Linked DNA regions of Homo sapiens: all the other regions are linked to region 1. The links are contacts of gene promoters, found by promoter capture Hi-C in blood cells and fetal thymus (Javierre and others, 2016). All regions are on one chromosome and are shown on one strand. Each heading gives the region's core, a stretch centred on a gene start or on the middle of the fragment in contact. The rest is flanking DNA. Distances are from core to core; before and after follow the strand shown.

Region 1 (6,277 bases), core at 1,795-4,294:
TTAGATAAGAAAAAAGATAAATGCTTTATCTCCAACTTTAAGCAACTAGGTATTTTTACTTACTAGGAATAGCATGGGGCTCAACTGTCTCTTGCTCTGAATAGAATGCATTTACTTAACAAAATAAACCCACAGAACTATAATGTTTCTCAAAGGGAATTATCAGCTCTTAGAAAATGAATTTTTAGAAATCAGCATATTAAATAAATATTAACTATTAACTTGACAAGGCTTTTCCTATTCACCCTTCTTTAGCAAACTTAAATATTCATCTTCTAATAATTGCTAAATGCAAATTTTCACTTTAAAAAGATAATGATAAACATTAAAAACCAGTTTGCCCTTCATTCTCGCACTAATCACCAATTCTCAGAAACTGCCTTTTATATTCTTCAGTGCGGACTACAGCAACTTCAACTGTTAGGTTAGTTGTGATCAAATCACTTTAAGGACACCAGTAGAGTTCTTTTACTCAAAATCAAAAGCAAATGACTTTTAAAAATAGCCCAATTTTAAGAGGGATGAATATTTTTAAGAAGCAAAAATTACTTTAAAACAAGGTAGCTAATTAAAAGTCAAGCGTCGTTCCAATTGAATTTGCAAAGCGTTACTAAAAAAATGGGAAAAATGAAACATGACATTCCTGTTTTTAATTTATGCTGGCGTGTGTGCTGATAGTACAGAACATGAGAACGGATAAATTACTACGTATTCCACTTTACTAAGTCTCCAAAGTTCCTACGTTTACAAATATATAAGTAAAAGCGGCACAAAAATGTAGGGGATCGTGTTTTCGCTGCTCATCTGTGCTCAGTTGCTAATTTTTCTAATACCAGATACATAATGCGATGAAATGGGAATGCTTATCTTCTATACTTCTATTTATTTTCATAAAGGGGAGAGGGGAGGTGGTCTTGATTCATTTACTATTAGCGTTTTGCAATAAAGTAGATCAGCATAAAACATAACTGAAGAAGTAGGATTCATTTTCCCCAGGACAACGCACACTTCCTCCTGTTTCTGTAGTAAAGTACATCACTTTGCTATTAAAAATGTCCATTTTTCACAACTGACTTTTCCTTAACTCTAGTCAACACTGCTCTTCAAAAGAACCTAGCCAATTATTGTACCTTGAAGACAGATGTGCAAAATTTTTACTTCCTTAAGAAACTTTTCCATTTTTTAAATGCTTTCCAAATTAAGCAGGACTCACATTAACTGTGATCTTAAGTAGCAGTTTAGTGAGGTTTAAAAACAAACTTTTCATTAACGCATTCATCCAATTAAAATGACATAGTAACTGGGACTACTGACACAGATTTCAGGATTACAGCTTTATACTAAAAGTCGGTCCAAACATGGTAACTCAGTGTTCATTTGAGACGCTTTGACTTTTGGCCTTTAAAAACTGTTCCCCACTCGAGTCCCCAGATAGAACTACATTTAGCAACTGGTCTCCTCCTGACTTCCTGGTACTAAAAACCACAACCACAAGGGCTGTTTCGTCGGTTTGTTGTAAAACAACATTTGCTCCAGTCATCTCACTGGAAAATAGACTTTCTCTACTGGGCAGCCGCTGAGGTGAGGGTGCTCAGGATGTTTAAAAACAAAACCACGCGTCTATGCGGTAGCGGCACCGCCGGTGTTAAGCGCCGGGTTTCTTCCAGGATGGAGACCGACGCGGGCTGGTCCGGGAGGCAGCCCCCGGCGCCCCGGCAGAAGGAGAAAAGGAGAAGGGTAAAAATAGCCGGCGGCCACGGCCCACGTGCAGCCGCGGGAGGACCGAGCGCGGGTGCGCGGAGAGGGGTCCGTACCTCCAAACATGTGCGGCGAGAGGTGAGCTGGTAAGGAGCCGATCACCAGGCGCGGCCCGCCGGGGCTCCCGCCCACCGGCCGGTCCCGGCCGCCGCCGCCGTCCTCAGGGCTGCTGTGCACCGAGTCCTGCGAGCCGTACGGGCCGCTGCTGCTGTTCGGGATGCTGAAGGGGGACTGCGCCGCGCGGGCCCCCGACGCCACGCTCCCCACGGCCCCGCCGAGGGAGCGGCTGCGCGGGGCCGCCGGGGCTGCCGGGGCCGCCGCGGCCGCCGCGGCGCCGCCGGAGGCGCTGGGCTGGTGCGCGCTGGGCACCTGAGCCGGGAACCTCCCCGCGGCGGCGGCCCGAGCGCCCCCGCCGCCGCCCGCGGTCCCATTGGCGCCTCCGCTGCTACTGGAAGGTAGATCCGAGCCCGAGTACGCGCGCGTGCGGCCGTTAGCGGCGGCCGGGCCGCTCTGTTTGGCGCCCATGTCCGCCCTGCCCCGGGCCGGGCCCGCGCGCTGCGCCCCGAGAGCCGGGAGGGCGGGAGCGAGCGCGGGAGCTAGAGGGCAGGGCCCAGGCGCCGCGGCCGGCCCAGAGAGGCCCCCGCACGTCCAGGGCCGCCGCCCGGCGTCCAGAGGGGCAGTCGGCGCCCGGCGCGCTCTTCTTGGGGCGGCGGGCGAGGCCGACGGCCTGACGCGGGCGCGGGAGACGAGGAGACGCGGAGAGGAAGGGGTCCCGGCTGCAGGCACCCCTCGCTGGCTCCAGCAGGAAGGGGCGGCTCAAGTGGCCGTGCGGCTGCCGCTGGTTTCGGTTCTGGTGCGCCACGACGGGCCGCTACCGCTCTCTGCTGCCGCGCTCGGCGCCCCCGATCTCGGCACCGCCTCCTCTCGGGCGGCCGCTGCTACCGCCGCCATCCTCCGGCTCCCACGGCGGCTGGCGGCTGAGTGGGAGGCGCCCGCCCAGACTCCGCCGGGGCCACCTTCCCTCCTCCCCCAGCCACCCAGCTGTTATTAACGGAGAAAGAGGAAAAACGGGTGGCGCGCGAGGGGAGAACGAAAAATGGGAGGGAGAGGTGGCGCGCGCTTCCCGGCAACCGTCGCCTCGCTCCCCCTGCGAAGGAGGGGCCGGGCTGGCGGGAGGATCTGGGCCGCGAAGGCGGGGGGTGCGCAGATGGGGAGGAGGTTCCCCGGCCCCGCGCCGGAAGGCCGCGGAGCGGCGCGGCTGCAGGGTGCGCCCGGCCCGTGTGTTTGGGTCGCGCGCGTTGACCCCGCCCCCGCCCCCTCGTGCCGCCAGGCCGATTGGCTCCCGCCGGCCTTGCTCCGCCTCCCCCTTCCGCGACCTGCCTGCCCCTGCTCCGCCTCGCCAAGGTACTGCGGTGTGGTAGGTGCTGCCACTCGTGGACTCGGTGATGGACAGGTCTCTGGCCACGCCCTCCCAGCCAGGGCGCGCCCTTGTCTTCCTCGCGGGGCCTACGCCGATAGGAGGAACGGACACCGGGCGCCAACCAGAAGGCGGCCCCTCCTCCCGCACGTGGCCCGCCGACGCTGTAGGAGCCTGTGTCAGCTGCAGCTTTTCCTGGCAGGGGGCGTGAATGGCTGTGTCCTCTGCCCAGAGCCGTTTGGTTTCGGTGGGTGTTGGTGTTACACACTGATTAAAAAAAAAAACAGAAGCTCAAAAGCCAGCTTGATCTCAGACTTACTCATGAAACACCAACCTGGGAGGAAGCGCAGAGTTGGAAGAACTCGGGATAATCCAGGTTGACCCTCTGTGGTAGGGCAAATACTGTGGTGCCAGGAACGCTGCACCTGACTCACAAAACCTAGAATCTAGGCCCAACACCAAACTAAATTATCTGTAGTGAGCAAATTATTTTACTTTTTTGGACTTTAGGTTTATTTTTGTTTTTGTTTTTGAGACGGAGTCTCGCTCAGTCACCCAGGCTGGAGTGCAATGGTGTGATCTCGGCTCACTGCAACCTCCGCCTCCCGAGTTCGAGCGATTCTCCTGCCTCATCCTCCAGAGTAGCTGGGATTACAGGCACGTGCCACCACGCCTGGCTAATTTTTGTATTTTTAGTAGAGACGGTCTTTCACCATGTTGGCCAGGCTAGTCTTGAACTCCTGTCCTCAAGTGATCCACCTGCCTCGGCCTTCCAAAGTGCTGGGATTACAGGCGTGACGTACCGCACCAGGCCGACTTTAGGTTTCTTACCTGAACTGTTTGTGTTAAATCCTAGGGCACCTGCCTCTTTAAAATCCTATAACTTCTCTAAAATGTAATAAAATTCTCCTCAGTGCCTTCCTCAGTGTTGGTGTGGTCTCTTCACGGCAGAGCAGGGTCTGGATACCCAGGGAACAGCCTGCTCTGAGACTCCCATTATGAAAATGTCTAGTCTCTACTTGAAAATAATAATAGCAAGTGGTGTTTTATAAAACTACAGAAATACTTTGTCATCTTTTCACTATTTGCAATAAGTCATTTATGTAATGATTTTCATCACTCTTAGGGTATGGGAATCAAGTTTTTAAACAAATGGAGAATATATGTATACATATAAAGACGTGTATCTGTGTACACAAACACACATATATACATGGAAAAACAAAGGTACCCAGTGCTTTATATGCAGTATCATGTTAAGATATGGTCATCATTTTGGTTAAGTGCCCTCTCCTTATAGATGTTTCCTGCCACCTCCTCCCCCATCCCAGCATCACAGACTGACTTCAGTGTTCCCACTCAGTGCTGTACAATACCTCCTTCATAGCTCTGATCATGTTATTATTATTATTAGATATCTTGCTTGTCACTACTCAATTGGCTCCATGATAAACTTCATGTCTGTACCTCCAGTGTTTAACACAGTGTCTGGTCTTGCCATGGTGCAATAAATGTTTTGTGAATGAATGAATGAATGAGTGAGTGAATACATGTATCCTCACCAGTTGTACTAAAACGATTCTTTCTTGAATGTCACTCATTAACTTATCATGTTCTTATTCTCCTTGACATTTCGCTTGTGGTGGGTGCCCCTTCCACCTCCTCTCTGGTGAGCCTTGTTTCTTTCCCCACGAAGGTTCTGGAGATAAAATGCTGGCCTTCTATGTTCTTTCCTTGGCCTTCTTTCCTCTCTCCTCACCCCTCTCATCTCTCTCCAGTCACCAGCATGAAGCTGTCAATGTGTGTTATTGTCAACCAAACAGTTCTGACTTCGTTGAAAATGTGTCGCTTATTTATTTATTTATTTATTTGAGACAGAGTCTCGCTCTGTCACCAGGCTGGAGTGCAGTGGTGCGATCTGGGCTCACTGCAACCTCTGCCTCCCAGGTTCAAGCAATTCTCCTGCCTCAGCCTCCAGAGTAGCTGGGTTACAGGCACGTGCCACCATGCCCAGCTCATTTTTTCGTACTTTTAGTAGAGACAGGGTTTCACCATGTTGGCCAGGATGGTCTCTAACTCCAGAACTTGTGATCCACCCGCCTCGGCTTCCCAAAATGCTGGGATTACAGGCGTGAGCCACCATGCCTGGCCATCACGTCTTTAGTATACCTACCAGTTCTTCAAAAATTAAAAGTGCTGCTTCATCCAAATGAGTACACACAGGTATACACACATGTAGAACTGCAACGGGTTTTTGAGATAATACCCATGCTACCTGAAATGCACTCTGCTTTCTATTTGACTTCACTTTTGTAAAATGCTGGTCACTGCTTATTGGATTGATTTTACACCCCCCTATGGGGATGTAATCTGCACTTTGATAAACAGTAGTCTAAATCAGTGCTTTGCAAACTTTAGCACACACAAGGATTACAGGAAAACCTTGTTAAAACAGGCTGTTGGGCCCCACCCTCAATGATTCTCATTCCATAGCTCAGGGTTGGGCCTGGAGAATTTGCATCCTAACAAGCTGCCCAGTGATGTTGCTGCCATCAGACTTCGGACTCTTGTTTGGAGAAGCACTGGTCTAAATGACGCTTTCCTCTACAATCAGAACTGTTGTTTTAATGCCTTCACCACTTATCAAGAGACCAGAGCCCCAGCTCTTTAAAATTTTTCAAATTTGAAGGTTTTAAAATACACTATATTCCTCCTGATGCAGTTCAATGATATTTTGACCAAAGGCTTTGGGGGTGCAAAATTAGTCTGAATGTATTGTTAAAGCACTTCACATTGACAAAATTATTGTCCACAAACTCACACTGGAACAGGTAAGCTACTTCTGGGCTTTCAATAAAAATGCCTGACCAATCAGTTTGTTGTTGTCTAGTTTGAAGTTTAGTTGGGGCAAGCCTCTTCCCTTTGTGTTCCCTTACTCTCCTTTGCATTCCTCTTTCCTCTCTTGGTTTCTCTTTTAAAACTCTGCTGGATCAGACCTTTGATGTGTGGGACAGCAAATTTGCATAGTGACACCCATTAGTCCTCTTGGTCGGGGACCACAGCCTCTCTACAGGGCTGTCCTGCAGCCAGCAGTAGCCCTAC
Region 2 (6,277 bases), core at 2,253-4,752, 230 kb before region 1:
AAAGAACAAGTTTCTCTCAGTAAATCAAGGAAAGCCAGGGGAAAAGACCATAGAGAAAAAGGATATGGGTGCCTGTATGAAGCAGGGGAGGTTTTTGACTCCAGTGCACCTAATTAGCAAATAAGTATCATTCATCTGTGCTGTGGTAAGCACTGCAGTATGCATAAATAGAAGGTGTGATACCTGCCTCCAAAGGGCTTACCATCTACTGAGAAATCCGACTAATCAGACAGGAAAGACTCAGATAATGAAGGCTTGCATAAGAGCCTGAATCTGATAAGGTAATGAACAAAAGACAGCCTCTACAGGTTTTTATAGATAGAAATGAGATGATAAAATCAAATTTAAACAATGTATCTTAACTCCCTTCCGGCCTTTCATTTCCATTCCATGAATGCTACCCTGGCTTAGGCTTTCATGACTTTGCCTATTTGCAGTGACCTTGTATTCAGCACTCTGCCATCTCTCCCACTACTTCCTCCCAAGCCATCCTGAACACAGGCCACATGTTTGATTTTCTAATCGTACACAAGGGAACGTCTCTGCTCAAAAGCCAAAAATGACTCTTCTTTGGCCACCAAATAATCTGAACTTTTTGGTGTGAAACTCAAGGCCCTGCCAGAAACAATATTAATCTCCTTCCAGACTGTCTCCCATTTCCTAATATTAACCCCTTGCTCTGTTGAAATTGAAGCCATTTTCCAAAGCCACCTCTGTGATGTCCTTATGTAATTCCCGCCCTCTTCTTGTCCTCCCCTGCAACCCTATCTCCATAGAAAAGCAGTCAGAAAAACCACCCTAGGAATTGATGCAGTAATCCAGGAGTGAGATGAGGATGGGAGGGAGAGGGTGAGCATGTGGGGATGAGGAGGAGGGTGGGACACAGGGAGTAGCCACAGACCTTAATGACTGATGGCAGATAGGGTGTGAAGGAGAGAGGTGAGTCAAAGGTAACTTATTTTCGGTTTTAGGCAACAAATACAAATCTTTCTCAATAACTACTCATCCCACATCCTTGTGGCTATTGGAGGTTGATATTTATTTCATACTGCCTGTATAACCTGGGACCATATATAATTAATGATGATTACTCTGTATTCTAGATCACGAATATATATATCTATATAAATATATACAAATATATAAATACAAATATATATATATATATATATATATTTACCTTAATGCAGGCACAACCAAATACTTTACTTTTGGAGCCAGATGTCTTTAAGATACACTCTAAAATATTATTGTGGAATTAGATACACTGCTTTCCACGTAAACCATTAATAGATACATTGAATAAGAATCTTTATTTCATTCCCAGTGTGGTTTGGAGTATAAGACTTAGGAAAGTGTCTGTGAAACCTACAGTGAGAAATTCCACTGGGTCTTGACAGCTGGAGTGAGCACTCAAATGTGCCCAGCACTTTTCTCTAGCTCCCTTCTCTGCTTGAGCTGTGGTCTGCTTTCTCCTTCTCTGTAGCTCAGATCATCTTCCTCCACTTCTCAGCCCACATGTCTAACGTGGCTGGGACCAGCTCAGAGTGTTTCAAATGTGTAGGTGCTCGGAGAGAGAGAGACCCAACCCTCTTAGACTCAGGTACACATTCTCAGGGAAGAAAACTGGAACCAGTAGAAATATCAGATCCCTATGTTCCCTGACGAGTGCTTCCTTCTCTAAGAAGAAAAACCTACTAAGAAGACAAATTACAGCTGGAAGGTTGTTTGGTAAGCGTGGAATCACCTATCTAATCTCCCAGCAAGTCTTAATTGCTCTACCATAAAAAAAAAGCAACCCAAATCCATCCTTTTCCCAGCTTCACTCCCTAGTCCAAAGCCACCATCCACCCTTGTCTAAACCTCTGCAGGACTGTCTTTGCTTATTTCTTTTCTTTTCTTTTTCTTTTTCTTTTTTTTAAGCGGAGTCTCACTCTGTCACCCAGGCTGGAGTGCAGTGGCGCGATCTCGGCTCACTGCAAGCTCTGCCTCCCGGGTTCACGCCATTCTCCTGCCTCAGCCTCCCGAGTAGCTGGGAGTACAGGCGCCCGCCACCATGCCCAGCTAATTTTTTTGTATTTTTAGTAGAGATGGGGTTTCACTGTGTTAGCCAGAATGGTCTCCATCTTCTGACCTCGTAATCCACCCACCTCAGTCTCCCAAAGTGCTGGGATTACAGGCGTGAGCCACCGCACCTGGCCCTGTCTTTTCTAATTTCTTAACTATCATTTCTATCCCCTTAGAATTGATTCTCCACTCAGCATGCAGAATTATCCCTTTGAAAATCAGATTATATTCCTACCTAAACCACCCCCAATAGCTTGTGACCTCTTAGAATCTAGATTCCTTAACATGGCCTCAAGGGCCCACGTGACCCAGCCCCTGCCTGTCTCTCTACCTCATCTCCTACTGCTCCTGCTTTTGTTCCTTCCACTCTAATCACTTGACCTCCTGACCTCAGTCATGCTAATAAACTCATGCCTCATTTAGATTTATTTTCCTAGTGGAAGAAAATGCATTGATCTGTGAACACAAATACATGGTTTATCTGTTACAGTTCTCATTGCATGTCAACAAACTGACATTCTGATGTGTACATCCATCTCTTATGAGTCTGCTTAGTGTGAATCTGCCCCCTCTGGTAGTACTGACAAGATTGTGTTTCTCAGCCCACAGAGCTAAGACACAGACTCATGAGACCCAGTCTCTGTCTATACCACTAGAGTTCTACTGCCCCTGAATGGCATTGCCTGCACAGACAGCTGGCCTTCCTCAGCAGACACACAGCCTTTGTACCATATAACTCTTCAGACTTGCTATGATGTACCAATGTCTTTCCTTGAAATGCTCTTCTGAAAATGATAAATGCTAAAACTGATTACAATGCTATTGAAAGTGGATGAGCAAGTTGATCTGCTGAGATGTGAAAACAAATTCTATTTTAATTTTTAATCTAAAATATTAGAAAGAATTTTGTTTCCTATACTTTGCTATATTTAGTAAATATACACTAATATAAGAATTTTGCTTTACTAAAACAGTAGAACCCTCAGTTAGCCAGGCAGTCATCATCTGTCACATAAAAGGTGTCCTGAGGAGGAATGGGAGTGCCTCCCCTGGGGAAGAGGCTGATGGTGGCTCTGGCTCTCAGTCAGTCGCTTTCCTTATCTTGGTATTTACTGTCATTTATCTGGGCTTAGCTAAACAGATTTATAGAGAATTAACTCTCACAAAATGGGAACATAATTTAAAAGATTTCTGCAAAGAATTGGACAGGAACTCTTGTCAAAATTGTAAGCAGAAGAAAAGAAAAAAAGAAAGGGACAGAGCCGACATTTCTCATACTTCTGGTACAAGCTCCTCATCACATTCATTGTGTTGTAAAAATAATGGTGATCTAGTAACATCTGACAAGGTCAGCCAAAATGATACATATAAGAATTTAGCTCTCCACCTAGGAGGGCTATTAGCAATAAAATTTCCATCTACTATAACTTATAATTAACTTTGACCTATATGTGTATTTCCCTTGAGATTGGCCAATGATTGATTGAAACTACCACAATTAATGACAGATAAAATAGCTTTTTTATTTTAAAATTTCTATTTTGTGGGTATTATAGAATGTATTTTATATATTAATATACATATAATTATATACTATTATAATCATATATTAATATTAACATATAATTGTGTGTGTTCAAAAATTTTTAATGGCACAATCAAAAAACTTTAAAGACCACTGGATTAAAAGATGGTATTTAGGGCCCAGCACAATGACTCAAGTCTGTAGTCTCAGCACTTTGGGAAGCTGAGGTGAGGGGATCGCTTGAGCCCAGGAGATCAAGACCAGCCATGGGCAATATGGCAAAACCCCATCTCTACAAAAAATACAAAAATTAGCCAGATGTGTTGCAACTGTAGTCCCAGCTATTCAAGAAACTGAAGTGGGAAGATCACTTGAGCCTGCAAGGTCGACGCTGCAGTGAGCCATGATTGCACCACTCCAGCCTGGGAGACAGAGCAAGGCCTTGCTTCAAAAAATAAAAATAAAAGATGACATTAAGAAGAAATCTGATCTCATTGTCTTTATTATCAAGTGATTGAAGGCTATAATCATTATTTAATAATCTTGTAGATAATGATTGTACTTGAAAGTGGGCTATTAATAACTAGATATATCTAGAGCACCAAGGTTTTACAATTGTTAGAAATTTGAGAAGCAGCACCCAGTAGTGACTTAGAGTCAGACTGCATGGCTGAATCTCTGCTTCAGTCATTGCTAACTACAACCTGGGGCAAGTTAGTTGACCTACTATGCCTGTTTCCTCACTGTAAAAGGAGAATAATATCAGTACTTTCCATATATGACTATTTTCAGGATTAAATGAGCTAATACATTTAAGAATTTAGGCCAGTGCCTGGCATTTCAGAAGTGCTCAATGAATGTTAACTAATATTAACCTGGCTTTGGTTAAATTTGAAAAAACAAACACAAAAACACAACTTTGTGTAGGTAACTTTGTTACCTACTGCCCCTTGCTGGCCAACCTGGGTCAGTACACTGCCATCTATGTGGGGAAGCTAAATAAATAAGTGCTTGGAGTAAGGAAAGATTTTCAGCGTTGAGGGTAATATCAATGCTAAACTTATGAATATTTTTGCAAAATAGTCTTGAGAAAAATCAATTGTCATGAAATTAAGTAATTAGCAAGAAGTATAGGAAGAGAAATTAAATATCTGTAACAATAATTAAATAATAAGCACATTTTAGATTCTTAAGAGCAGTTGAAAAGCAAGACATTTTAAATTGCAGTGCTCTAAAATAGGACCCTTGAGAATTTATGGTGTAATAGAATATGATTTGCCAGGAAAAGCAACTTGCTCCCTGAAATGACCAAGTATGTATTTCAAGTTCTGCCTAGATGTTTGAGGGGTGGGAGGAGGTATTATCTTCTGTAGGGAGACCCCCTGAAACTACTGCTACAGAATAAAAGATGAAATGCTCCTGGTTATTGTAAATACAAAGTTGCATGCAGGATTGTGTAAAGACAATGCCAGGTTGGGCTGCCAGAATGAGCCAACAGCGCGTGATGTGCTTCCCCCTGCAGAGAGCCTATGAACAGACGTGCAGTCAGGGAGGTTTCACATCACCAAGATTCCTATCCCAGAAAAGCAGATGTTCAGAGCTCTGGGAATGGAATGCAACGCTTGTGGAGAGCCTATAAGCAGATGCATGAGGGGCACCTGTTCATATGGATAAGATAGGGCTACAAACACCCTCATCTTGCCATGGCTCTTCTAGGCCTCTTTAGGGTTAAGGCATACTCCCTTCTGAGAATTTCTGGTCTAACCGGTTGTCTAGCTTCACGTCCTGTTTCCATGGATTGTTTGTAACCAGCTTTTGCTGCAACAGTTACTGCTGATTAATATCTTGCTAATCATAGGTTATGGACAGACTGTGTTTCTGTTTCAAGGCTCTGTTAGAAATGACTGATGTAAATTCTTATCTCTGTATACTGTACTTCTGCATATAGATGTTATGTTAAAGAATTACTTCATCTCCATGTGACTATCTCACCTCATAATCAAACGACCCTAAATCCCTCACTAACCTACCCCTGACCTCACTAAACTTAATAATAAATGCTGGTATATCCAGTGCATTGGCGGCACCACGGGACCAGAAGATGGTGACCCCCCCTGGACCCAGTTTTCACTATCTTGTGTGCGTCTATTATTTCTCGACCTGCCGATCTGCCCGTGAACAAGGAAAGAGCCCCATTGCATTGCGGGCTGCGGGGCAGATCCCACAATAATCTTCCTATTTGCAGATTGTATAATAATAATAATGCTATTGCTTATTGAGTGCTCACTACATGGCAAGGGCTTTCCATATATCACCTTTTTCCTTGTTCTTTTTTTAACATGAAAATATTCAAACATATATACATTAAAAATATAATGAACATCCATGTACATCACTACATTTAACATTTAACACTTTCTGTATTTTTTTGTTCTGAATTATCTTAAAATATAGGTATCAAATATTTCAACCCTATATATGCCAGTATACATGTCTAAAAATAGAGACATTTTTCTACCGAAGCACAATACCATTATCACACCTAATAACAATTGCCTAATATCACCTAATGCCCCAGTGAAAACTCAAATTTCTTCAGTTGTCCCCGAAATATCTTTTATATCTGGCTTATTAAACCAGAATCAACAGAGGACAAGCCATACATTTGGTTATTGTTTGTTTGTT
Region 3 (6,277 bases), core at 2,043-4,542, 220 kb after region 1:
ATAAATATATAGCAAAAGCATAAAAACATGTATTACATAATGAACTACGCAAATTCAGGATGATGATCTCTGGAAAACGATGGGAGTCACGGGATTAAGGAGTGACACGTGGGCACTTAACTGTATTGAACTATTTTTTTCTATTAGGTCAAGTGGTAGATATTTGTTAAATGCCTAAATTATTTATAATTTTCTTTTTTGAGACAGAGTCTTGGTTTGTCACCCAGGCTGGAGTGCAATGGTGCAAACATGGCTCACTGCAGCCTCAACATCCCTGGCGCAAGTGATCCTCCCACCTCAGGCCCCCAAGTAGCTAGAACTACAGGCTGGTACCACCACACATGGCTAATTTTTGAATGTTTTGAAGAGACAGGGCTTCGCCATGTTGCCCAGGCTGGTCTTGAACTTGTGAGCTCAAGTGATCTGCCTGCCTTGGCCTCCCAAAGCGCTTTGGCATGTATTTTTAAAAGCAGAGCTACTAGGAGAGTAACCTCTGAATTCTTTATAGTGACTATGCTTAAGGCAAATTGACTTGTATGGACAATAACCAGTGGAAAGAGGTCAAACAAGCACCCAGAGATGCCCTTTGTTAATTTCAGGCACTGTTAAGACTAACGCTTGTGCTGCCAGCCAATCCTGCCAGTGGAGGCATATGCTGCAAATGGTTCTGGAAAGAGTATTACAATTCACATTCCATAGTATTTTCAGAATGGCCAACTTATGATTTGATGTCAAATATCTGATTATGAGTTCTGACTTTATCTCTCTCACTTATCTCTCCTTATCTGTGAAAGCCTTTCATATTAAATACATGACTGAGCATCCTTTTAAAATTTTTTCTATTCTGTGCCAGAAAAGGATCTTGGTTGGGTTAACTTTTACTGACATTTATGGGATCATTCTGAGATGAGATATGTGGCAATATGTTATCCCACTGAGCACAGAGCATATAACATTTAATACAATGGTGCATGAAATGCCAGAGCAACTTTTCTTCCTTCCACTTGCAAGGATGCTTTCCAAAACCTCTTTCTGATGTGGAATATGCAATGGAGAGGGGGACTCAGCTCTAAAGCAGATTATTAAACATATCTGCCTTGTGAACCCAACTCCCTCCTGAAAATGACCTCTAAAGAATGTTAGGACACTAAGGGAACACAGCAGCTCTTAGCATGAAACCACCCAAAATGTTCCACTCTGATTATCATTATGGGGAAGCCAAGTGATGGCTCAAGTGCAAAAAGGGGCAGTGTAAAGTCTAAGGCTCCTTCCAGATGCTGGAAGTATTCCAGGTCACAGAACTGCAGCAATACAATAACTAGAGATGCATTTTCCAGAAAGGTAAAGGAGACAAGGCTTCTACAATGTTATTTAGGACTTCTACATATAAATGTACTATTTCCAAGGCCATTAAGACCATACAAGTTTCATGAACATTCACCTCAAACCTTACTTAAGCAGTATTTTTATTGGAAAGCTGTCTAATTATGATGAAAAGGAGGAAAATAAACTGATGCTATAACTAATTTCAGCAGTTTTACTCCTGCTTATTAAAAATCTCTTAGATGCAGTCAAAATCACAAAATTATCAAGATGTAGACAAGTGACAGGTGAACCTCAAAGGCCTAAGTCTAGATGACTAGGTCTCAAACTTCAGCATGGATTAGAATCATCTGAAAGACTTGTTAAAACACGGACTGCCAGGCCCCAGCCTCAGTGTCTGATTCAGCAGGTCTGGGGTGGAACCGGATAGTCTGCATTTCTAATGAGTTTTCAGGTGATAAAGATGCTGCTGACCTTGGAACAGCTTGAGAACCACCGATGGAGATTTTGAGACCCTAGGGAAGGTATTTATCCTCTTTAAACCTCAGTTTATTCACTGGAGAGTATTTGGAAGATTAAATAAAATATTTATCAAAAACTTAGTGTAGTAGTTACACTGGGTGCTCTGTAAGTGATAGCTGTTTTTAAATTCAACTTTAGAATTTAAAAAAGCCAACAAACTTGCCTATATATGGCATATAAATTGCACACACTCTCTTTTACCTACTCACTCACCCTCCCTCATTTCAAACAAGGTATCAGTTCTACTTATGAAGGCTGGGACTTCAAAATGAGAAAAAGGAACCATTATCCCAGAAGAAATATGCATCAAGGAGCCTACAGGTTCTGAGTAACTATTGTGTAAACATTTCTCAAAAAACCGTTTACGCAGAGCTTGTTGTGTCTGTGTCTGTGGGAGGGGAGGGTGGGTTTAACAGGGGAACTTTGGAGGGAGGGTGGGTTTAATAGGGGAACTTTATCTCCTCATACTAAGCAGCAGCAAGAAACTAGGGATTTCCACAAAGATAGGATTTAAATCATAAACACCTTCTTTGAAATAAGCCTGAACATCAGGACAAAAATGTCAAATTTACAGCCTCCCTTCTCTTTTCCATTGAAAATTGTGCCGAAGGAGAAGAGAGGGAAGAAAAAGCTGAGACTGGCTGTGATTATTGCAGTCACAAAGCAGCATTTGCCCTTCAAAGTCTCCTCTTTCTTCACAAAGTCAATACATCCCCTGGGCCCAGTCTCCAAATCAAGTACAACATTTGATGAGAAACCTTGAGGAGAAAAGGAGAGAGAAAAGTGGGCAGAATTGGGGTTGGGACTGGATAGAAATGGTATATCCTGTTTCCTTTCTATGTCTAGGGGGGTCAAAGCCCATAAGCAGCTGGGTTCCGTTCCACCCCAGCTCTTCCAGTGGGCTAAATGGGATCAGCATTGTCCTACTCCCCTTCCATAGACAGCCCTAACAAAGTAATAGCAGCATGAGACAAGCGGAGTCCACTGGGCACACAGTGCTAAACCCTGTATCTTCTGCATTTCCAACAGGTGGAGAAGTCTTTCTGCTAGCATGAAAATTCCATACTAATAAGTTAGTTTGAAGTGAAGTTTCTGGCTTGGCACCTAAGCTTTGTAAACTTTCCATTACTGATGTGGGACAAATAAGTCTTATTTTCTGGCAGGTTATTAACTTCATATATCATGATTATGATAATGATGACAAAACATCATTATCACAACAATAGATGCTAATCTTGACGACTGAGCATTGTTTTTTTGTTTGTTTGTTTGTTTTTGAGACAGGGTCTGGTCTCACTCGATTGCCCAGACTGGAGTACAGTGCCATGATCACAATTCACTGCAGCCTTGACCTCCTGGGTTCAAGCAATCTTCCCACCTCAGCCCCCTAAGTAGCTGGGACTACAGGCACGCAACACCATACTCAGCTAATTTTTGTAGAGATGGAGTTTTGCCGTGTTGCATAGGCTGGTCTCAAACTCCTGAACTCAAGTGATCCTCCTGCCTCAGTCTCCGAAAGTACAGGCATGAGCCACCACACCCGGCCACACTGAGTGTTTTGCGTACCAAATACTTCTGTAATTTTTTCACATGCACATGCACCTACTTAATATTTACAACCACCTTGTTAGGGAAATAATATCACCATTCCCATTTTATAGATGAACAAAGTGAGGATCAGAGAGGTTAAATAACTTGCCTAAGGGCAGAGCACTAATAAGTGGCAGAATCCAGAGAGCCACTCCAGAGCTCCTGATCCTACACTCCACAAGCCATAAAGCTTGACAGATACTGGCTAGGGGGCATGAGTAGACATGCTGAATATACTTTTAGTACTTGAAATCAGGACACAGAGGGGAGAATATAACTGAGACCATCCTGAAATTCAGGGATGTATGGGGAATGTAAAAATGCAGGTGGCCCAGGAATGGTGGAAAAGACCCTTTGTAGGAGAAATGTGGACCTTCAAAGCAGGGGCCTCAAAGCCACTCTGCTTCAGACCTTATGCTGGTCTTAAGCAATATTTTAATCTTACAGTTCCCTAACCTGTAAAAATGGATTGAAATGAGGATTAAGTTTATGAAGTCTACATTGTTCACAAAGTGCTATAGAAATGTCAGCTCTCATTTTTATGGCAGATCAGCAGTTGCTAGATGGGGCAGACTCGGGAAATCACGTGGGGGCAGAATTCTTGAGGACTCATGGCCCAGAGAGAGGACTAACAGAAGGAGGTAGAACCCAACTGTGACACTGAAAAAAAGCCACAGAGAACACTAGCTCCCTCTCAAACCAGAAGCATCTAATTAGTTTATGTCACAGTTCATTTTTTTCTCCACACACGCCTCATGGCCCATGCTAGAAGAATTTCCTATAGATCAATGGTGAGAGTTCAGCCACTCCATTAGAAGCACTCTAAGGATGCTCCCCAATCTCAACATTTTCCAAAACTGGTCTGATAAATGGCTCTATCCACACATCCATCCATCTACCTACCTGTCCAATGTTTATTAAGCACCTACAATGTTGCAGTCACTACTTTAAGGTGCTGGAGATATAAGATGATCTCCTCTGACCAAGCCCTTCATCCCATTTTGGCTTTATGACTAGAAACTGGGACGCACACAGCATTATATATTTGAGGAGTTACACGACGACGACGAAAACCTTTACTCTTACTCCAGAACAAATCCCTGGGATTCCCCCACGCCAACCCGCTGTTATGGTGTTCAAGCTTTTCTTTGTATACTGATTTTCAAAGACTATAATATATTTGAAGATTTAGGAAAACTAACTTCTTGATAATATTAGGTCTTCCTATTATGTTTAAGAGATGGCTTTCCACTTATTCAGCACGTCTTTAAAATATACTGATTTTTAGTAAGTTACATCTAGATTACCAGGTCATTGTCTCATAGGTACTTTTAAACAAAGCATATAAGAAGCAATGAATAATAATGAAATAAGAAAAGAAACAAAATCAAATTCTGAAAAGCAGAAATATCCCCTATACCCTGTATCCTCCTCTAGGGGTCTCCATTCCACAGTCTATTGACTCATTCAACAAAACATAAAGAACACTTACTTAGGGCTGTCTGGATATCCTTCTCCCCATTTTTCACTTCTGTCAAAAATCCCTTCAAAAATTTGAGACCTCTAAAACAAAATAAAGGAAGAAATATTATTTTCAAAGTTCACTTATGTTGAGTGGGTATAAAGAAATGGCAGACATCAGCTTCCATTTCAGTAACATCTTAGGCACAGCAGTGAATAGGTCAAATCATATGGCAGTCCTTCCTGAACCTCTTCCCTTCACTTCCCTTTAGCTTGCTCTGGAGCCCATCTTTCATCTCATCTGATATACCTAAAGAAGTGGTTTTCAAAATGTGTCCCAGGACTAGTGGCTTTAGCATCACCTGGGAATTTGCTAGAAATGCAAATTCTGGGGCCCCACCCGAGTTACTGAATCAGAAACTGTTTCCGAGTCTAGTGTTTTTAACAAGTCCTCCAGATGATTCTGATGCCACTGAAGTTGGAGAGCCACTGATTTAAAGAGAAGCCAGTTGACTTTAATGCCTTTAAGATTCCTATCTTATATATACTTATCAACAATATTTATCACCATCAAAAGAGAGGCAAAAAAAAAATAAGGTGGTATTATTCATTAGGCCTTCTAGAAAAGGCTACACAATTCAACTAGATCCTTCACTCAGAAGTAGTCTCCTTTGTGTAACAATTTTTTTTGCTGGTAATTTTTTTTGAGCTAGATTTTAACTGCTGTCCCACCCCAGCTGCCTCACCTCTTCAGCCACAAGAGGGCTTCAGTCGCTGAGTTCCTAACCTGGGCTACATCCGCCTCCACTTCGTGCAGCACTATCTTCTGGAGAGTGGTAAACTCTTCTTTGTTGGTTATATACTTCTGATTTACTTTCTGGAGGGAAAGCAGGGAAACAACCTAAGTTTAAAATGCTGAAGTTATCAAGCAACTCAGTATAGTCTGGAGACTTGTAAGTTTGGCAAGCAGGCCTCTAAGAAAATAAATTAAGCTCCTATTACCTTCTTCCTTATGTTTTCATGATAGTATTTGTTTTGGAGAATTCTATGTAGCTTAAACTGGAATTAAATAGTCTCAGGGTTTAAAGTTTTGTTCTTAAAGTTATTTTTTCTGCCTCAGAACCTCTCTCATGCTTGTCTTTGGCAGATACTTTTCACTCTGAATATAAAACTCAACAATCATTTGTTCTAATGAGACTACTTGCAACTGTTCCACCTAAATACAATAAAGAAAGGTATACCTACAGGAATTCCTAATAGTGCTTCCTCAAAGACTAGTCTCCAATGACAAAAAAGATTTTTATTGGGCACTGTATCCTCAAGAAGGTAACATTTAATCTGCATTTAAAAGGGGACCCATCCCTTATTTTACCTGGAAGAA
Region 4 (6,277 bases), core at 978-3,477, 170 kb after region 1:
AAATCTACTATGATTGATTTGGTAAAGAAAAAGTCAGTTCTCTGGTGTCAATATGTTACTAGTATTCCTCCAGCAAAGGCAACCATGGGTTGGCCTTCTGTCCCACTGTCCTTTTTGTTTTAGCATTTGTCTTGGAAATAATTGTCACAGTTTGGATGATCAGTTACATGATCATTCTACCTGTGGTACTAATGCTCAGAGAAGCAGATCAGAAACCTACTTACGGTGTTTGAAGTCCCTTATTTGTATCTTTAACCAAAGCAAGGTGGCCACCAATCAAGCCAACTGAATTACAGGAAGTTTCAACTAATGCTCTCAAGTGAACATGCATTAATTTCACCCAAACTAGACCTGACTGGTGACTTTAAAATTGGTTCTTAGTTGTGTTTTTTCCAATTTCTCCACTTCACTGTGTTAAATTAAGTTTAGCCTGAAGCTGCCTCCTTACATATTTAGGTCCAACCTAAATGTTTAACTGAAACCTAATTGGATATGTAAACAGACTGTTGTAACCTACACTTGCACCAATCGCAGAGTTCTGGCCAATCATAGGCATATTGCTTTCCTTTACAGGTGTTAGTTTGGCCAATCACAGGCAGCCAACTGTTTAAATTGTATTCAAATAAAGCAAACGCTGAGCTGTAACCAATCCAGCTGTTTCTGTACCTCACTTCCGCTTTTTTGTACGTTACTTTCCCTTTTTTGTCCTTAAATGTTAGCCCACCATGTAGCAGCCCTGATTCTAGAGGCTGCCCCATTCTCAAATTGTTATTTACTCAGTTAAACTCTGTTAAATTTAATTTGTCTAAAGTTTTTTCTTTTAACACCTGCCAACATGTTATTTTCTGTTTTTTTTTTTGTTTTTTTTTTTTTAATTATTTGTATTACAGCCATCCTACTGAGTATGAAGAGGTATCTCATTGTGGCTTTGATTTGCATTTCCCTAATGACCAAGTTCTTAGCTTTTTGATAGCACAGAGAAGACTGTTTGCTCTCAGAGGCTTGCATTGTATCTTAGAGGTTTAATATTCTCAGAGCTGAGAATACAGTAGGTGTTAACAAATCTCTCATTCAGCAAACATTCACAAAAAGAGCCTGAGTTGTGTATATCAGCTGAGTACCAATAAGAAAGAGTTATATTTAGTGTCAGGAGGCCAGAAGATCAGAGCACATAAATACATCCTAAAGACTGTGACAACAGGCTCCTAAGGTGACAAATTCACACCTCAACATGAAGCAGGGTGGAAGCTTTAGAAGCTCTCGAATCTGATGCAGCAAAATGGTGGCTGAAGGTCAATTACAGTTAAAACAGGTATAAGCGGCTGTTTTCATCTCCCTTTTCATTGTAATAAAATGTGTCTTGGCAGAAACCTCTCCAAAGGAGATGGGTGCCCACTTCCCAGAGGTGTTTGGTGGATTAATGTGAGCAAAACACTGTGATGGTAAGACTTCTGCTGCAATTGAATGGAGAGTGCTCTTATTAATGAGACTTCCAATTCGGAGCATTTACTACATATAAGATACTGTCCTCGGCAGTTTCTTAATAGCTGAGAATGTAATGCACGGCTTTGAGACATTATCTCAATCTTAATAACAGCTGCCTCCGGGGCTGCAGCACAGGTTCTGTCTGGGTTTAGATCTGAGCTTTCATGTACTAGCTATGAGATTTAACCTCCGCATGCATCAATTTTCTCATCTAAAAAGGAGGAAATTAAAATGCCCACCTCTTAGGGTTGTTTTCAGGATGCAGATTCCTACATGGAAAGAAGTCAATACATGTTAATTCCCTTTGCCTTCACTTAAAATTAGGAATATTACAGATATTATTCCTTCTATTTTCTAGATGGGAAAAGTGAGGGATAGGTCCCGTAGTGACTCAGAAGTCATCATCTTTTGGGGTGCCCTCCCAGCTCACAGCCATTTCCAATTCCCTGGGAACTGTCCCCTGACCCGAGGTGATGAACCCACAGCAGTCATGTCTGTACCACGGGCCAATGCCCCTCAGGCCACCATTGATTGAATGGAGGAAGACAGACATGGGACTTAAGTGGGCCAATCAGATTCTTGTACAAGAATTTGGGAATGAGGCCAAGATACAGAAAGGTAGAATCTGCATGTGGCTAAAACTGTGTCACGTAACTTAGGCATTGATGCCACTATATTCTGTCAGATGAATGGGAGACGTGGAGAAAGATGGGCCTCAGACGGGCGGATCACAAGGTCTGGAGATCGAGATCATCCTGGCTAACACGGTGAAACCCCGTCTCTACTAAAAATACAAAAAATTAGCCAGGCGTGGCGGCGGGCGCCTGTAGTCCCAGCTGCTGGGGAGGCTGAGGCAGGAGAATGGCATGAACCCGGCAGGCGGAGCTTGCAGTGAGCCGAGATCGCGCCACTGCACTCCAGCCTGGGCGACAGAGCAAGACTCCGTCTCAAAAAAAAAAAAAGAAAGATGGGCCTCAGAGAGAGAAGACAGAAAGATATGCAGTAAGAAGCAGCCATGGCAGCTAAGAAAAGATCCCAATGGCTTTCAGCTCCTGGTTCTAGTCCTTTCTCAGCCCAGCCCATGCCTTTCCCCTTGGATTCCATGAGCTGTCCACCTACCTGCAGAGTTATTATAAAGCCCCTCATGTTGCTTCTCGTAGTTTGGTGGGCAAGATTTTCACAGGCCACAAACTCAAATAGGCAAGCAATTGAGCTTTATTTTCTTGTAATATAATTTAATTTCTCTTTTGAGACCTCATTCTATCTGATGGCAGAAAAACAATCAAATAAGTTCCAGATAGACTCAGTCATTTCAGGGTTTTCTCAGGCATTTTAGATCTCACTTAACTCAGGATACTCTCACATACTTCCTTCTCTCCAGGAGGCATCTCGGGGCTTGCTGGGCATCCTGGCCCAGGAGAGGCATTTAGTCCAGGCTGATCCCCTGGAGAGAGGCGTCACCCAGATGTGATGCATCCTGTCTCATGCTGGGTCATCATGTCCTGCAGGCCACTCTGCACCCGCCTGATTCTGAGTGACAGCCCTCCTGGGCCACCATCAGACATTTGTGTGTCCCTGTTAGAAATGAATCCACGTCTCAGTTTTTAAATTTTTTAAAAAATAAAAATATGAATAAAGTCTTGGCAATCTTTAATCTACAGGAAGTAGAGTTGTGTAGTTATACTTCTGTTTCTAATATCTTGTTGGCAACATAAGCTTTGTGCCTTCATTTTTTTAGTGTGCACACTAAACTTTTGAAACTTAAAATTATTTTTCTCATAAATTCTGGCAGTTGTAAATCAAAACTGTTGTTTTTTAAAGATTTTAATTTTTTTCTGGAGGGGGGTCTTGCTCTGTCACACAGGCTGGATGGAGTACAGTGGCATGATCATGGCTCACTGCAGCCTTGAACTCCTGGGCTCAAGTGACCCTCTCGCCTCAGCCTCCTGAGTATCTGGGACTACAGGTGTGTGCCAACATGCCTGGCTAATTTTTTTATTTTAGTGGAGATAAGGTCTCACTATGTTGCCCAGGCTGGTCTCAAATTCCTGAGCTAAAGCAATCCTCCCACCTCAGCCTCCCCAAGTGCTAGGCTTACAGGCAGGAACCATCGTGCCTGGCCCTAAATTTAATTTTTAATAAATTACATTTTAAGGCTATTATTTCTACTACAAATTTTAAGAAACTAACTTGGAACTAATTTAAGTCTCAAGAACCTAACTTGGAACTCAAATTCATTTGGCCAAGACATTGTATAGTGCTAACTTAAGTGGGAAGGGCCATGGGGTAACTTCTAGGAAATGCACACACACATATAATTTCATTGTATGGCATGAGTTTGAATCGATTTCTCAATTACTGTGAGCTGAGAACCCCAGTCTCCCAAAAATGCTTTCTATCCTTGACCCTGCCTGCCTCTCACAATTTCCAGGCTGTCTCCTTAATAACGTTCAATCTGCCTTCCACAGTCATTACGTCAACTGGGCACAGATGCTGGAAGGCAGACGGAAAGGCGGTGACAAAGTTAGACCTACATTTGCAAGACCAAGTGAAACACACACCCACTCTCCTGAAGCCAAACTGCTTTTGGAAGGCGGGCAGGGGAGTGCCATTCCCTCTAGCATACTTGTCATTCCCAGCCTAGGTTTCAGATCCTTTTTATACACTGGCCTGTGGAGAGACTTGCTGCTAAATTCTGTTATTTCACAGCCCATCTCTAGCAACTGTGTTGGGGAACGACTTCAGACATTCCAGGTTTTGCTCAGAGAGCAATTTTCAACAAGAAAGCCAGAATGGGGGAGTAGCTAAGATTTAGTTGCAGCAAATTGGAGACCGGAAATATAAAGTTATTCAGAACAGTCAATGAAAATCATTTATATGGGAGAGAAACAACATGATCTTGCTTTAAATGTAAGGCATCTATCAGCGGCACAATGTTAATTAGGATTCTAGGGCTCTTAGTGCAGCTATTCCCTTTTTTATTTCTAGGTTGCTAGGTGCAGAAGAGTAGATTTGCAGAACAGCTAATCAAATATATGCAAGAAGATGCCCCTCATTTATCCTTAAGCTTCTAAGGCAGAAGTTTTTCTTCAGTTGTTTGTTCTTTAATGAATTTTAATGATGTAAGAAAAATACAATACACTATTAGGTGAAAAATCGCACATGTAAACAGATATTCACACATGAATCAAGTTATATAGTACATATATACATACACACATATGTGTATGTATATATGTATACATGTATGAATACATACATGTATACATACATACATGTATGCATGTATACGTGTACATGTATACGCATACATGTATACGTATATACATATGTATACATGTATACGTGTATGTATGCGTATGTATACATATGTATACACATGTATACGTGTATGTATGCGTATGTATACATATGTATACACATGTATACGTGTATGTATGCGTATGTATACGTATGTATGCGTATGTATACATGTATACGTATGCATACGTATGTATGCGTATGCGCACATGTATGTATACGTATGTATGCGTATGTATGCGTATGTATGCGTATGCATACATGCATGCATGCACATGTATGCATGCATGTATGCGTATGTGTGCATGTATACATGTATGTACACGCACGCATGCATGTATACATGCATGTATACGCATGTATGCGTGCCTACATGTATGTGCACGTATGTATGCATACGTGTATACATGTATGTGCACGCATGTATACATGCATGCGTGTATACATGTATGTGCACGTATGTATGCATGCATACGTGTATACATGTATGTGCACGTATGTATACATGTATACGTGTATGCATGCATGCGCGTATGTATACATGTATACGTGTATGCATGTATGTGCGTATGTATACACGTATACATGTATGTGTACATGTGTGCATGTATGTGTACATGTATGTGTGCATGTATAAATGTATGTATACATGTCTACATGTATACGTGCATGTATACATATGTCTACATGTATACGTGCATGTGTACATATGTCTACATGTATACGTGTATGTGTACATATGTATACATATGTCTACATACACGTATACATGTGTGTATACATATGCATACATATATACATGTATATATGTATATCTAAACACATATAATACAAAAAGGAGAAAACATTTAAAACATGGCCATTTTTAGGTAGTGGTACAATGAGTAGTTTGCATTTTCCTCCTAACACTTCTATGGATGTCCCCAATTTTTAAATCAGGCTTACCAAGAGAAAATAATTAACATCATACTTTTTTTAAAGGGTGGAATGAGACTCCTAACTTTCTTAAAAGAAGATGTGGGGAAACAGTCTGAAAACTCTCCTGCCATACTGCCTTAAAATGCTTGACAAAATACAGCAAAAATTATTTTAAATGCATGAATGAACTGGCAACAGAGAAAGGAAGTCTCCAGGTGTGTCAGTAACAAAGAGAGAAGTGAGTGGTAAGGATGTGGGATGCTGCCACAGCTGGGCTTAGTTAAAAAACTGCAGCAGTTTTTAAAAGGCTACACCCACACTGAAAAGAGTAGATTAGGAGAACCATCGATGCACTGGCACGGAGAGACAAAAAAGAATTTATATGCCTCTGTCTGGATGGGGAAAAATGTCCTCTGAGAAATGAATTCTCAGGGTCTTTTTCTACCTCAAATTTGGAGGTTCAAATTTGCAGATGGTCCAGGAACCATGATGATAAATGACTCCCAAAATGATAAACAGCCAAAAAAGAGTTCCACATCTGGTGATCTTTCTGTGGCAAATGCAAAACTGCTCT

What was found. The method cuts DNA at HindIII sites, captures the fragments that hold promoters and counts their contacts. A CHiCAGO score of 5 or more calls a contact.
Region 2: a fragment that was not itself captured here is called in contact with the fragment with the promoter of ZNRF2 in region 1 in 1 of 17 cell types (naive CD8 T cells); the score reaches 5.5 in naive CD8 T cells.
Region 3: a contact is called between a fragment that was not itself captured here and the fragment with the promoter of ZNRF2 in region 1, in 1 of 17 cell types (naive CD8 T cells). The highest score is 5.9, in naive CD8 T cells.
Region 4: a fragment that was not itself captured here is called in contact with the fragment with the promoter of ZNRF2 in region 1 in 2 of 17 cell types (neutrophils and total B cells); the score reaches 8.0 in neutrophils.

What each region holds. Positions count from the first base shown.
Region 1 is chr7:30,281,364-30,287,640 of GRCh38, reverse strand. ZNRF2 (zinc and ring finger 2) reads right to left here and starts at 3,044. Exons shown (of 5, transcript NM_147128.4): 1 at 1,815-3,044. The coding sequence starts at 2,283. LOC124901607 (a long non-coding RNA gene) reads right to left here. Exons shown (of 3, transcript XR_007060274.1): 3 at 3,387-3,442. It overlaps LOC105375218 (a long non-coding RNA gene), which reads left to right and starts at 1,556. Exons shown (of 4, transcript NR_136267.1): 1 at 1,556-1,581. RefSeq lists silencers at 1,799-1,928, 2,079-2,158, 2,239-2,628, 2,709-2,758, 2,769-3,198 and 1 more. The HindIII fragment of the contact is 18,269 bases long and covers 1-6,277 here.
Region 2 is chr7:30,508,578-30,514,854 of GRCh38, reverse strand. No RefSeq gene overlaps it. Among named protein-coding and RNA genes, the nearest start is that of GGCT, 6.9 kb to the right of the region's middle. RefSeq lists an enhancer at 2,206-2,707. The HindIII fragment of the contact is 7,857 bases long and covers 1-6,277 here.
Region 3 is chr7:30,061,393-30,067,669 of GRCh38, reverse strand. PLEKHA8 (pleckstrin homology domain containing A8) reads right to left here. Exons shown (of 14, transcript NM_001197026.2): 11 at 5,643-5,773; 12 at 4,928-4,998. Among named protein-coding and RNA genes, the nearest start is that of PLEKHA8, 36 kb to the right of the region's middle. The HindIII fragment of the contact is 671 bases long and covers 2,957-3,627 here.
Region 4 is chr7:30,114,753-30,121,029 of GRCh38, reverse strand. It overlaps a transcript of PLEKHA8 not described here. Among named protein-coding and RNA genes, the nearest start is that of MTURN, 17 kb to the left of the region's middle. The HindIII fragment of the contact is 1,953 bases long and covers 1,251-3,203 here.